2 separate regions of the Homo sapiens genome follow, and region 1 is linked to region 2. Evidence: promoter capture Hi-C in 16 types of primary human blood cells and fetal thymus (Javierre and others, 2016). All regions are on one chromosome and are shown on one strand. The core of a region is centred on a gene start or on the middle of the fragment in contact, and the rest is flanking DNA. Distances in the headings are between cores, read along the strand shown. Region 1 holds the start of LOC107984299 (a long non-coding RNA gene). Region 2 holds the start of MRPL23-AS1 (MRPL23 antisense RNA 1).

Region 1 (7,756 bases), core at 1,059-3,558, 140 kb after region 2:
AGGCGTGGGCAAGGGAGGAGGTGTCCCCAGTGAGGGCCCAGCCACCCCTCAGGCCGTCCGGGCATTTCTGTGTGTGTGTGTGTGTGTGTGTGTGCGCACGAGCGTGTGTGACAGGGTCTTGCTCTGTCACCCAGGCTGGAGTGCAGTGGTGCAACCAGGGCTTACTGCAGCCTCTACCTCCTCGGCTCAAGTGATCCTCCCGCCTCAGCCTCCCAAATAACTGGGATCACAGGTACATACCACCACGCCCAGCTAATTAAAAAATTTTTTGTGTGTACAGATGGGGTCTCACCATGTTTCCCAGGCTGGTCTTGAACTCCTGGGCTCAAACCATCCTCCTGTCTCAGCCTCCCATAGTGCTGGGAGTACAAGCATGAACCACTGCACCCGGGCAGTGCATGCGTGTTTGAGAACGGTGTGGGCCTTGCTGGGTGGGAGGTTAAACAGGAACAGAGCCTTCCTCTGAAGAGCTAAGAGTCTACCCAAGAATCAGATGCAGAATCATTTCTTCCCTCAGTGCCTGAAACTCTAAGGGAGGTGTGTGGAGGGCAGACCCCGGCCCCTCCGTTGTCCTGTCTCCAAATCTGGTGCAGGGTCCAGCGAGCAGCACGGGGACCAGCAAGCGGCTGCATCAGGTGATGAGTTAGTTTGGATTCTGGGATGGAGCCAGCTGAGGGCATCAGATTCCGGGGGATGGAGCCAAGCAGGGAAGCCTTGAGGGGTGAGCCAGGAGGAGCTCTGTGCCAGGCGGGCAGGACACAGGGACACTCCAGGTGCAGAGGCCACAAGGCAGATGTCTGAGAGGTGCAGACCTGGATTTGAGGGGAGAAGCCGGGGGTTGGGACCTGTGTAGCAGGCTGGAGGTGCGTGTAGAAGTCCCAGCCGAGCAGGGAGAGGCCTGGGCAGGAGATGCTGTGTGCTGGCACCATGGGCTGGAAAGGACGTCCCGCAGTACAGGCCATCCCGCAGCGCCCCTCCCTGGCAAATCACTCTGTGGGCACACGCAGGTGCTGGAGGGGTTTGCTGTGGGGAGCAAAGCTGGGGGCTGTGCCCTCTCCCTGCACGCGAGCTGGGGTCACTCGGCCCCTTTCCTTCCACTGGCCGTGGCCACTGGTGAGCTTGGGAATCTGGCCCAGGAGTGAAGAGAGTGAGGAAGAGAAGCTCTCAACGGGGACAGAGACAGACAGGAAAGGGGCAGGGAAGGCTTCGAGGGGGCCGGGTGGATCGGAGGGATGCCAGGAGAGGGCAGTGACCAGACAGCTGCCCCTAGCAGAGCGGACAGGCCAGGCGGGGTGGGGAGGCAGTACTGGGGGAGCCCAGGGTTCAGGGCCAGCTGAGAGTGGAAGAAGCTCTCCAGCAGGCGCAAAGAGACATGGGCCAGGTCAGAGAAGATGGGCGTCGGTCGGCACAAAAGGCCTTGGGTCGGAGAGCTTGGCTATTTATTTTGTTTGCTTTTAGTTTTTACTTTATTTTTTTTTTTTAATTTGTAGAGATAGGGTTTTGCTATGTTGCCCAGGCTGGTCTCAAACTCCTGGCCTCAAGTGATCCGCCCACCTTGGTCTTCCCAAATCCTGAGATTACAGGCGTGAGTCATCAGCCTGGCCTTCTTCTTCTTTTTTTCTTTCTTTAAATTCTCAAAGCTTTTATTTTTTGAGATGGAGTCTTGCTCTGCTGCCCAGGATGGAGTGCAGAGGCGTGATCTGGGCTGACTGCAACCTCTGCCTCCCGGGCTCAAGCAGTCCTCTTGCCTCAGCCTAGCTCTACCTCCCTAGCTGGGACCACAGACATACACCACCACACCCGGTTAATTTTCATATTGTTTTGTAGAGACACTTTGTTGCCCAGGCTGGTCCCGAACTCCTGAGCTCGAGGCTCCCCACGCAGCCTCCCAAAGTGCTGGGATTAAAGGTGTGAGCCACCACACCTGGCCTTCATTTTTTTTTGTCTCTCTCCCTTTGAAAATCTTTAGAGCTTGGTGTTGTCTCCACTATTTGGCGGCGTCAGAGTGACCGGGGCCTTCACTCATGAGAAGCTCAACCTGCAGCGACAGCAGGGCCGGCTGGGACCTGCAGGCGGGGAGCTGATCTGAGAGCCGTGAAGGGCCTCGCTGTGGACATGTGCTCCGGGGGGCACGGGACGCTTCGTGAGAGGGCGGTGACAATTGCTGGGTTCTGCCCCGATGGCCTCTGGTTTGAGGTGGGGGGCCCAGGTGATTTGGGGTGTGAGTGAGAGATTTTGGGGAGCTTGGTGGGGGGGGCGGAGGGGAGGATCAGAAGGAGGAAGCTCGTGGAAACCGTGCCTGGCCCAATGCCGCGCTGATTCTCGGCGGCCTGCCGGAGGGGCAGCCGCAGAGACTGGAGCCTGCCAGGACGCAGGCCTTCCCGATGGCTCGAGGAGGGGACAGGGAGTCAGGAGCAGCTTGGCAAGGAGGGGGAGCAATGGGAGATGACAGGGGGTGGTGAGGAGGTAGGGGTGACTGGGGCCAGGGGAGGGAGAGGCCCTGGGGCCAGGCTGTGCTTGTCGAGGCGGCGGAGGTGCTTGCAGGAGGGCAGGAGCAACAAGGGGATCGGGGGGTTTCCAGCGTGGTCACGGCCAGCCCCGCACAACGGGGAACACTGGCTGCCAGAGGACTCCAGTGTACATGGTGGCCCCAGCGTCTTGTAGGGACTGTTAGACAATCCTCATGCAGACCCGTGTCCCCGTCCTGAGGTCCCGTCACAGGTGTATGCCTCGCCCCAGCAGCACTGACACAGCTGCAAATAACTCCAGGTCCCTGACTTCGTGGATTTTCCCTCCCAGAGGAAGAGACGGACAGTGAACAAATGAAAAAACAAGTCCATGGTCATTCTGGAAAATAACCAGGAGAAGTCACAGAGATGGCTGGGGGACTCACGGAGGGCTTCACGGAGGAGGTGACCATGCTGGAACTGAAGGGTGTGAAGGAGATGGCCACAGGGAGAGTGGGGAGAAGCTTCCAGGCCTGGGGCAGAGGCAGGCTTGGTGGTCCTGGTGTGATATTCAGCAGCTGGGTGGTCCAGGGCGCCGAGCCAGGCCTTGCTGGGGCTGGGGGAGAGTCGGGCTGACTCTGGGGGGCACATAGGAGAGGAGTTTAGGGAGGCAGGAGGTGCCAGCTGGGTCCCTGCCTACCTGGTGGTCCAGTGAGGCAGGCGCTCTCATCTCCATGTTCATTGTACATCTGGGTAAACTAAGGCTGGGCAGCCCACTGGGGTGGAGTGGGGGCTGAGCCACAGAGGCAGCTCTAACCCTGGGCTCCAGGGCTGTCTGGGGAGAGCCGGAGCCGGAGGAGTGGGGGTGGTGAGGCCCTGGCAAGCGCCGGACTCAGCTTTCCAAGGATGGCTGGAGCCAGGCACCGGCCTGCAAAGGTGGGTCTGGGCCCAGGCACAGCCGGTGCCAGGGGAACAAAAAGGACACAGGGCTGCACAGGTCAGGGGTGAGGTGCAGCTGGAGAGAGAGGGTGAAGCCCAGCCCTGATCCGGGGGCCCCTCGGTGGAGGCCCAGGGAACCCCTGAGGACCACACAGGGGGTCCAGCAGGTGGACATTCATGGGGGAACTCTGTGTCCCCCTCTGGGACCCCACTCCTGGCTTCCCCTTGATCGAGTGCGTGAGGGGGTGAAGGTCAGGGGGAAGCCCCCTCTGAGTCCAGCCCTGCGGAGAGAATGAAGCCCCGTGACCTGCCTCATCCTAGCTCCACCCAGCGCCCAGCATGGCCAGGGCACCGGGCCTCCCTCCTGCAGTCCCTGAAAGGCAACTTTCCAGCCTTGGATCCCTGGCCCTAACCCTAACCCTAACCCTAACCAAGGTGTCCCCGGGGGCCTGGCACCCAGCCCCGCCCTCGGCCCTCAGCCAGGGGCACACACACAGTCCTCAGCCTCCTCCACCACCCCGAAGTCCCCCACACCCTCTGGGGCACCTTTCTGCCCACACCTGAGCCCTGTGAGGTCCTCTCTGTTAACTTGTGGTATTTTTCATGTCATCTGTTTTTGTTGTCGCTTACGAATTGTATTGCTTTAACGTTCAAAGAAAAGTTTAGCTTTGGGGGAAGTCATTTCAAACCCACAGAGAAGTTTCAAGAATAAGAATTTGACAAGGTGCCTCTGTACCCCCCTCACCCAGGGCACATGTCCACTTTGCCATTCGACCCCTGCCTCTCCGCCTCTCAGCCTCTCTGTTTCTCTGAGCCTCTGTCTCTTTCTCTCTGCTTCTGTCCGTGTCTCTCTGCCTCTGTGTCTTTGTCTCTCTGCTTCTCTGTCTCTGCCTCTGTCTGTGTCTCTCTGCCTCTGTGCCTTTGTCTCTCTGCTTCTCTGTCTCTGCCTCTGCCTCTCTGCCTCTGTGCCTCTGTGTCTGTCTTTATGTCTCTTGTCTCTCTGTCTCTGTCTCTCTCTCTGCCTCTGTCTCTGTCTCTCTGCCTCTCTGCCTCTGTGTCTCTGTGTCCCTCTGTCTCTTGCCCTCTCTCTGCCTCTTTGTCTCTCTTTGTGTTTCTCTCTATGTGTTTCTGTGTCTCTCCATCTCTCTGTCTTTCTCTGTGTGTCTCTCTGTCTCTGTCTCTGTGTCCCTCTGTCTGTCTCTGTCTCCATGTCTCTCTGTGTCTCTGTCTCTGTGTCTCTGTCTCTGTCTCTCTGTCTCTGTCTCTGTGTCTCTGTCTCTGTGTCTCTCTGTCTCTGTTTGTCTCTGTCTCTGTCTCTCTGCCTCTGTCTCTCTGTCTCTCTGTCTCCCTCCTTTCCTCCTGAAGATTTTAAGGTCTGTTTCCTTGGAATGCAGATGTTGTTTTGTGTAACTATGAACTTGAGCACATTTACCGCGGACACTGCTTGTTATCTTGTCTGCCGGTCTGTGTCCTGATGGCCGCTCCCATCAGCGGGGGCACAGGGCAGGCCCTCTGCGTCACCACGGCCTCCTAGCAGAAAGGACATGTCAGGCTCTTCCTGCACGTTTCCTGCCCCACCCTGCAGTCAACCTCTCTTCCGAGGAGCCCTGGGTCCTTCAGGGGAGGACGGTTTTAGGGAGCAGAGCCTGGGGCCCGGTTTGCTCCTGGACACTGGGGTGTCTGCATGTCAGTGGCTCAGCGGCAGAGCAGGAAACACCCGCGTGTGCAGAAGCACCCACCTCTGCCTCCCCCGAGGAACCCCTGCCTTCTGTCTCCAGCAGCCGCAACTTCCAGGGGTGCCCCGTGCACTTCCTCCCACCCCTCCCTCCTTGGCCCGCTGTGCCCAGTCTTCCCCAACCCCTTCCTGGCCACAGCCCAGCACGGGTTACCTGGGACTTCAGAGGCCATGTCCTCCCCGACCTCCAGAGCCACGCACAGGGCTGCCCACAACCCCTGCCCTGGGCCTGTCCCCCTCCTCTTCCGGGACTCCCCTGGGGCTCATGGTGCCTGCCCCGGCTGCCCTGGCTGTCCCTACCCTCCCCCTCGTCTCCTCTCGCCCTGGCCTTAGGCACCTCTGCCCATCGGCTCACCACCCAGGACACCCACATCCACATCTCCAGCCCAGCCCCTGCTCCAGCTGCCTGGGCCAGGTCTCCCCTCGGAATTTCCACAGGGCCCCCAAACCCAGCAGCCCCAAAGTGAGTGCCTCACCTCCTCCCAAGGCCACTTTCTCACGGCTCCTGCCCTGGAGAACAGTCTCTGCCCACCCGTGCCCCCAGCAAGGTGCCTGCCTTCCTCATGTCCCTCAGCCAACAAGTCCTGGGGACCCGGCCCCTTCCACGTCTCCATTCCTCACCCCCCAACCCAGCGGTGACTTCCGCTGTGCTCCACCCTGCTGAGGCCTTTCTAGAATGCAGAGCTGGGGGACAGCCCCATGGGGTACTGGCTGCAGGCCTCACTTCCAGCAGGGACACCAGAATCACCCGAGAGGGACGGAGCCGGGCTCAGAGGGGCGCCGGTTTGATATTTGCTGGTTTGCTTTCCGCAGGCCTCTCACTTACTCCTTCATTTACTCATTCACTCATCTATTGGAAATTTAACAAACACCCGTGCATCTACTATCCAGCCCAAGAATTAAAACATCCCCCAAACCTGCATCAGCGTAGGGGTCCTGTCTCCATTCTGCCCCTGCTCTGCCCCCACCCCACTCACCCCAGAGGGTCACTCTTTGGAATTTCGTGTTTGTGTTCAACATTTCCTTGCTTTGAAATAAAAAAGATAATTTTCCCACACAGCGTGTCTGCCCCGGCCAAGTTGAATCTTGTGGTTGGCAGCCAGGTGTGATGCGCCTGCCCCAACTCCTCTGCCACACCCCCCTGACGCCCTGTGGGATTGGGTCCCGCCCCCTTTCCCAGTAGGCACAGGCTCTGGAAAGGTGCCATGTCCCCTGCAAGGGGTCCATGGCCAGGCCCCACCGCCGCCTGTCCCTCGCTCTGCCTGTTGCCTGCCTGGCTCTGCATGGGACGTGCTCCAGCCTGCAGCACCCTCTGCCTCCACACTTGTCCTCCCTCAGGTCTCAGCTGAGGCTTGGGCTTGGGCAGCTTCCCCCCGACAGGCCAGGTCTCGGGCCTCACTTCTGTGCCTCATGGCCTCCTACACCCTGGGCCTTGCCTGGTCCCATCATTCTGGCATGGGGTGCCATGCACCTCTGCCACAGCTGCACCCACCAGGCAGTGCCCCCTTGGCCCCAAGCTGCCCTGCTCGGTGCCTTCCCCTACAGAAGGCTAAAGGAGAAGGCCCGGGTGGGGGGTTCGGACTGGCGTGGGGCTCCAGCTACAGAAAAGGTCAGAGCTGAGTGCCAGGGCTGTAGGGTACCCGGGAAGCAGGGGACTGCACACAGCCAAGGCCGTCCCGGGAGCCCACTGACGTCAGTCCCTCAAGGCAGCCCGAGGCGGAACTGCCGCTGCACGTCCACCTCCGGCAGATCAATCGATGGGACCTCCCGGGGGCAAGGGCACAGCGCAGGCTGGCAGCCTCCCCAGCGCAGATCTGAGCACAGGGACCTTGGCGTGCCTGCTCTGTCAGCCTTCAAAGAGCAGGGCTGATAACGTGGCCTTGCTGTCACCGGCCTTGTCAGAACCTGTCAGCTGCCTTGTCCTTGGTGGCCAGATGGGGCTGGGTCTTGGGGCTGAGTGGAAACGAGACTTGGGAGCCACACTGGAGCCAGGTCAGGGCCAGGCCTAGCCCCTGCCTGATGGGCACAGGTCTCTTGGTCCCCTGGCATGGTGAGGAGTGACACAGCCTGCCTTTCAGGGTGGCAGTAAGGACCAGAGACCAGGCTGGCCAACCCCCAGCACCATGCTGGTCCCCAGCCCGGAGACTGCCAATTTGGCCTGGTCATGGCCCACCGTGCAGGCTCGCCCCTCCACGCTCCCCGTGCCCAGCCTCAGTGCTCAGGGCAGGGGGCAGATAGGAAAAGCAGGGAGGCCCCGGGGCTGGGGGTCTGTCCCAAAGTGATGTGGGAGGGGGATGAGCAGGAGGATCTGGGGGTGGGCACGCGTGGACAGCAGCCTGGGGTCTAATGTGGCCCTTGGCTTCCTGCCTCAGATGAGCTCCCTGAGGAGGGGCAGCTTGGGAGGCATAGGGGGCTGCCCCCAGCACTGCGGGGGCCACACGTGTGTCACATGTGTGGATCTCTCTGGAGCCCCGGGAGGGCCTTTGCGTGGCTGTGCAAATGTGAGACCCACTTATCTCAGGAACTCCCACCCAGACCTGGCTCGGTCCCACAGCCTCCATCCCCAGCCCTGCATGTTGGATGTGCCCAGGCCGAGCCCCAGGAACGCCTGGGGCACTATCAGGGCCCTCACCAA
Region 2 (6,650 bases), core at 3,922-6,421:
GAGGAGTACATGAAAAGGGGGATGGGGGTTCCAGGGTGGGGGATTCTGGGATGGGTGCAGCGCAGCACACACCAGGGGTGGGGTGAGCACAGGGTGTGTGGACCTCAGGGGTGCAGGGCAGGCGGTCAGCATGCAGTGATGGCAGTGGAGGGGCTGTGGGACCAGGGGCTTCACAGACTGGGCGGGGGCTGGGCTTGCGGAGGGGGCCTGCGCTCTGAGGCAGGGGTCGGGGACCACCAAACCATCCCCGAGCGAGTGCCTCCTGTCGCCCCAAAGTCCCATCAGAATGACGCCTTGGTGCTGGCCCCAGACCCCTGAAGCCCGGGCTAGGTGACTGGGGTAGAGCTGGCCATGGCCGCTCTGGGAGGCCCACAAGGTGCTCTGGGCGACCCCACCCCGACAGGGGCACGAACCCCGCGCCAGTCCCGTTCCTGCTCCCCTTTTGCTGTGGGTGGGAGCCGGGGCCACGCCGGAGGGACGGCCCCGCACAAGGAGCCAGGGGGTTGTGGGGGAGCCGGTGGGCTTCTCAGTGGGCAGGTGGCCTTGGGGCAGAGGTCCTAAGGAGGCCAGGGGACCAGGAGGAGGGAGGAAGAAGTTGAGGGTGGCCACAGGGAGGAGGTGAGGAGGAGCGGGAGGGCCCAGGGTGAGGGGCTCCCGGGCTCCCTCCCCGGGGTCTTGCTGCTGGAGCTCCAAGAACCCCGGTATGCAGGGGTTCGCTCCCCAGGTGCCAAGGCAGCCCACTCATGGGTTCCGGGTCAGCTTCCCCGCAGAGGCCAGTGGCCGGCAGCTCCCTCAGCCAGGCCTCCCAGCTCCCGGCCCCTCGCTGTGCAGGCGCTGGGAACACAAGGGGCAGCCCCTGGAAATAAGGGTGGGGTCCCGGCCTCCCCATTCCTTCCCCCCTCCCCCCTGCCTTCCACCCCCATTCCCAGTGCACAGAGCTGTCAGGAAAATTCCTCCCCGACTGACAAAGAACAGACAGGAAGGCGGTTAGGGACGCCCCTCCCCTACCGGCCCAGCCGCCCTTGGGGTCTTGGTGTCCAGGGCGGAAGAGCAGGGTGGTTCCCCACGTCCCTTGGGTCTGGCCTCCCCTCTGCACCCTCTCTTGCCCCCTCCCCATCCAGCTGTGGGCCCTGGGGACTGTCAGAGACCGAGGGGTTTCCAGGGACACACTTGTGTGCTAAAACCTGGGCGGGTGGTCACCCCCCAGGATGCATGTAGACATCCGGTGAGGGAGTCTCTTGAAGTCTCTGGGATGGTGCCCCTGGGACTGGCTGCCATCTCATGGAGGAGGTCAGAGGTCGCTGGGGCCAGCCCAGGGTGAGGCCGCATTCATCTTCCTGACCCTACAGGCCAATTTGACTTACCCAAGTGGGTTTTGGCCGGCAGGATGAAGTAACCCATCCATTACATGTCAAGAGTTAGGTCTATAAACGGCCTTTATTATAAACATCCAACTCTGCAGGAGGTTTACAAAGCAGGGCTCAGGAGATAAAAGCCGGCTTCCCCAGGTGGCGGCTGCAGGGTGCGGCAGGCAGCCCCAGGGGTGCCCAGGGTGGCGGGGCAGGGGAACCGTAGGGAGGGGGAGAGGGGCACCCAGAAAACCTCTCCTGGAGAACATGGAAGACTCTGCCCACTTCAAATCCCTGCCTGGGGAAGGACACATGGGAATGGGGCCGGGGGAAAAGGCGGGCCACCTCGGGCCTTCGTCACCTGTGTCAGCTCCTAGGGATTGTCTCCTCCTGGTCACTTGGAGAGAACAGGCGTGCTGGACACGTCCACATCTCTGGGCCCGGGGTGTATGAATGACACGCTTGCTCTGGAGTTTCCACCTGGGAGCTGTATGGGGACAGGGCTGTTCCTCCTCACACCCGCTGGGGAAGGGACACAGGCCTCTTGGTGGCCCCCACCATCTCCCAGCACTGCCCATGGCTGTGCCCACGCTGGCTGCCCCCTGAGAGCAGGACGTGTACTCAGGGGCAGCGCCTACCTCTGGGCAGCCCAGGTTTCTCTGCTCCCTGCAGCGGAACGGGCTTCCTAGGGCAGTTCCTGGGGTGGTGTCCCTAGGGCAGCCCCTGAGTGCTGGAGGGGGTCTGGGCCACAGGCCCTGAAACAGGGAGGTGGTGGGGGCAGCGTTCAGGGGGCTGAACCTCAGGGTGAGGCGGGCAGGCGGGGAGCCACAGGCCCGGGGGCCCCGCAGCAGGTGCTCAGCCTCGGAGCCTCCTGCCGCACCCCGGGGCGGGGGCTGGGAGCCCGCCCGAGCCCCTAGCTCTGAGCGACCTGCCAGGTTGGAATGTGTGTTTATCTTTGGCCCAACCCGATTTCCTGCTTTTTAGAAAAGGGGCTTAGAGAGGGTTGTTAGACAGGCTCCAGGCACCCCAACACCCAAAGGCACTTTGAAAACGCCCCTGCACTGACTTCAGTGCGGAGAAGCAAACGGGCTGGAATTTCACTCCCAAACCCCAACATGGGGGTGGCGGGGCCGGGGTGAGGGTTGTGGCTGCCTGCAAAGGTGCCAGGAAATCTGGGGAGGGAGGAACTTCCACCGTTCAGGGAGACCCTGAGGGTGCCCTGGCTTCTGGCCACGTCCCAGACCCTGTTAGGCACCGAGGTCTTCACACCCAGACCCTCCACCCACCCAAGTTTCTGCGGCACGTTTAGGTTGAGTGAAGACCAAGTCATCCAGTTAGAGAAGAGGACTTGAGGCGCGTGCTGCTGCTGTGGCCACGCTGGACCCTCGGTGCACGCATCTCCTGGCGAGTCCCCTGTGGCTCTGTGGGCCGTACACACCCGGGGCACGCGACCTCAGCTACCTTGTCACCGAGGACGTGCATCCACAGCTGTGCGTCTGTGCCTGGGAGCGGGGTCTCCACTTGGTGGGTCTCTGCATGCTGACCAGTTAACCCGCCTTTCCGGGCTGTGGAGGGCGTGGGTCCTGTCCGGCCCGGAGATGCTCCGCGGGGTGTGTGTGTGATCGTGGCCCTGTAGCGGGGTGGTGTTCCCTGGAGGGTGGACCCCTGAGCCTGGCTGTGTGTGGCTGTGTCTCAGCATGAATTCCGTGACCCAGGAGCACGTTTTCAGGCAGGGATTAGGGGCAGCTGGGTGTGGGAGGCAGGCACTTGGTATACCACCGAATGGAGACAGAAAATCCCAACTCTACGAAGGAAGTGAAGTCCCTTCAACAGGGACAAAGCGATGTTTTGGGTCTGACTACAATGCACCCTGGGAAGTCTCAAAGAAAACAGTCGGGGACTCAAGGAGGGCAGCCCCCTCTCCCCGACCCCGAGCTCCCAGGAAGATAAATGATTTCCTCCTCTCTAGAGATGGGGGTGGGATCTGAGCACTCAGAGCCAAGGGCGCAGTGGGTCCGGGCGGGGGCCCTCCTCGGCCCTCCCAACATGGGGGCCAGGAGGTCAGCCCCTCAACCTGGACCCCGGCTGGGTCTCAGGGAATGGTCTCCCCCAGTGGCCCAGCTTGCTTGTGTTTTCAGATGGGTGTGCACGGGTGTGTGTGTGTGTGTGTGTGTGTGTGTGTGTGTGTGTGATGCCTGACAAGCCCCAGAGAGCCAAAGACCTGAGTGGAGATCTTGTGACTTCTCAAAAGGGGGATTGGAAGGTTCGAGAAGGAGCTGTGGTCAGCCTTGCTCTCCCTTAAGGCTGTGGTAACCACACTAGGCATAGCATAGGCCTGCGCCCCGTCCCTCCTTCCCTCCTCCGCGCCTCTCCTTTCTCTTTCTCCCCCCTCTACCCCGCTCCCTGGCCTGCTCCTGGTGACACCGTTGGCCCCCTTCCAGGGCTGAGGGAAGCCAGCGGGGGCCCCTTCCTGGAAGCCCACCTGCAGGCCGGCTTGCTGGGAAGGGGCTGCTCTCGCAGAGGCTCCCGCCCGCCCTGCAGCCGTTTCCTGGAAGCAGTCGCTGTGGGTATTCTGTTCCTTGTCAGCACTGTGCTTGCAAAGAAAGCAGACACTGTGCTCCTTGTCCTTAGGGAGCCCCGCTCCATCACCCAACACCTGGCTGGACACAGGCGGGAGGCCGGGTCCGCGGGGAGCGGCGCGGGGCTGGGGCCGGACCAGTAAACACACACGGGCGCCAGGCACTGCAGGCTCCTCCTCCTCCTCCTGCCCAGCGCCTCTGCTCACAGGCACGTGCCAAGCCCCTAGGCCAGGAGGCCCAGCAGTGGGTGCAGAGCAAGCTCCTGGGAAGGGGGTGCAGGGCGGACCCCCGGGGAGAAGGGCTGGCAGGGCTGTGGGGGACGCTGACCGTGGGCCCCACGTTGCAGAAAACTGGCTGCCTGGCTGGAAGATGGGGGAGATGCCAAGCCTCTGAGGCAGCACGAGCAGGGTGCATGGAGGCCGGGGCGCGGGGAGGCTGCACTGCAGCATGCACCCCAAAGCCCAGAGGGAGTGGAGACCAGGCCCTGGAATCGAGAAGTAGAAAGGCGGCTTGGAGGCCTCGGAACCGGCTGACCTCCAACAGAGTGGGGCCGGCCCTGGAGGCAAAGAGGTGCCCGGGGTCCGGCCCTGCCTGGGGGAGCTATGTGTCATGGGCAGCCACAGGATATGTAGCCAGCTCTGAGCATATGGACCCAGGGCAGGGCTGCAAGGCAGGGCAGGGGAGACAGACGGGGGAGCAAGGAGCAGAGAGGGGGCCTCAGGCTCTCCCAGGAGGAACATTCTCCCGACAGGAGGAAGAGACGGCCCAGGGGTGACTGTGGGGAGCCATGGTGGCAGCTGGGGTCGTGGCAGATGGGAGAGAGGCTGGCGAGGTGAAGGTGCAGGGGTCAGGGCTCTGGGGCCCACATGCCTGTGGGAGCGGGCAGGCCCAGGGCTCTCCGCCACTCCCCACTCCCGCTTGGCTCATAGGCTGGGCCCAAGGGTGGGGTGGGATGAGCAGGAGATGGGGCCCAGGGGGCAAGCAGGGCCCCAAAGACATTTAGAAAAACCGGTTTATGCAGGCAGCATTCAGAGCAGGCGGCGTGCGTGGCGGGGGCCCTGGGAGCACAGAGAGGCACACGTAGGGCCCCCGAGGGTCTCCCCATTGGCCGGCAGTGACATCACCCCTGTGTCAACAGTGATGTCTGCAGCTCCGGCCAGCCAGGGTTTATGGAGCGAGACCCAGCCCGGCCTGGGCCCTCACTCCCCAGGCCCACACACTAGCCCACTGTTCAGGGTCCGGGGTGGCAGCATGGCCTGGGGGTCCTGGCACCGCTGCTCCTCTGCCCACCCTAACTTCCCGGCATGGCGGCTGCCCCCTCTGAGCGTCCCCAACCAGTAAGTGTGGGGCCAGCAGGCCTGCCGTCCTCCTCCTCTTCCCTCTAGAGAGAAACGTGGAGGTCCTGGGGCTGGGGGCGCTCATAGCCCTGTGACACAGGTGCATGGGGTCAGGGGTCCCAGAATGGCCCCTGGGAAGGACCTCAGCTGGGCCGGCGGCTCTAGGCTTCAGGGGTCTGTCTGCACAGGGGCTAGCCCCTCCCAGACCTCTGTGAAGCCAGTACGGGCCTCCCCTCCCTGCCCCGTGCTCTGTCCGGTGCTTCCTGGACTGCACTGCGGGCCACTGGTGAGAGGGTGGACAGGGAAGGGCCGCCGTGGTGCCTGTTCCTGCCCACCTGGCTGTGTGGTCCCCTCCAAGTAGGGACAACCCTTCTGAGGGCTTGGGGGCACCCTGGGGTTGCCAGGGCCTCCCAGAGCCCTGTGAGCCCCTGGGGGGTCTGGCCTGATGCCCCCCTCCACGTCCAGGGCCGGCTGTGGCCCAGAACCCCAGCTTCCCAGCAGGCCGGTGTGCGGTGGTGACCCAGGAGAGGCCTCACCTCCACTGAGGGGCCACCGACCTCTGCCAGGCCACAGAGACCCCCAAGGAGTCTGAAGGCTGGAGACCCGGGGCTGGGACCAGGTGGGACTTTCCCACGGAGCCGCCCCCAGGCCCAGCTGGGGACACGTCCCCCTTCTCTCCAGACACACCCTGCCTGCCACCACGACACACCGGCCTGTTGGGGGTCTCTTTTAAGTGCTTGCCACTCTGAGGTGACTGTCCCTTTCCAAAGAGGTTTCTGGGGCCCAGGTGGGATGCGTCGGCCTGAGCAGGAGGATCTGGGCCGCCAGGGGCTGGGGACTGTCTCCTGGGGAAGGAAGCGCCTGGGAGCGTGTGTGCTGACCCAGGACCATCCAGGGAGGCCCGTCTGTGGGGCAAGCGGGAAGGGAGCGGCTGGAGAGGCTTGGCCGCCCCCGCCCTGCCTCCCATTCCTTAGCTCCATGCCTGTCAACCTCTGTCACCCAGTGAGTGATGTCCAGGGGCCCTGGAAAGGTCACAGCATGTTTGAGCGGGGTGAGAGAGAGGGGAAAGGCGGGGGCGGGGAAAAGTACGTGGAGGAAGCTCTAGGCCCAAGGAAGGAGAAAGGGTTCTGGGAGGGAGGGAGCCACTGGGGCCGCCGGGAAGGTCCCTGCCTGCTGCTGCCACCCAGAACCCTCGCCTCTTAGCTAGCCCCCGCAGCCCCAGCCTTTCTGGCCTGTGCCCCTCTCCCCCATCCCCAGCTGTCCTGTGCAACCAGGCCTTGGACCCAAACCCTCCTGCCCCCTCCTCTCCCTCCTCACCCTCCCAATGCAGTGGTCTCCAGCCTGGCTCTGCCCTGCCGCAGGTCCCCTCCCCTCATTCCAGGCCT

The links. Contacts are between HindIII fragments. The CHiCAGO score rates a contact against its expected background, and 5 or more counts as called.
Region 1: a fragment that was not itself captured here is called in contact with the fragment with the promoter of MRPL23-AS1 in region 2 in 1 of 17 cell types (endothelial precursors); the score reaches 5.4 in endothelial precursors.

Annotation. Positions count from the first base shown.
Region 1 is chr11:1,841,893-1,849,648 of GRCh38, reverse strand. It overlaps LOC107984299 (a long non-coding RNA gene), which reads right to left and starts at 5,312. Exons shown (of 3, transcript XR_001748095.2): 1 at 5,276-5,312; 2 at 4,819-4,916; 3 at 1,902-3,085. RefSeq lists enhancers at 1-167, 4,930-5,029. The HindIII fragment of the contact is 1,331 bases long and covers 1,643-2,973 here.
Region 2 is chr11:1,988,441-1,995,090 of GRCh38, reverse strand. MRPL23-AS1 (MRPL23 antisense RNA 1) reads left to right here and starts at 5,171. Exons shown (of 4, transcript NR_024471.1): 1 at 5,171-5,265. It overlaps LINC01219 (long intergenic non-protein coding RNA 1219), which reads right to left and starts at 3,995. Exons shown (of 3, transcript NR_126400.1): 1 at 3,832-3,995; 2 at 2,811-3,153; 3 at 1,622-1,836. It also overlaps a transcript of MRPL23 not described here. RefSeq lists enhancers at 3,282-6,650, 3,282-6,650. The HindIII fragment of the contact is 17,986 bases long and covers 1-6,650 here.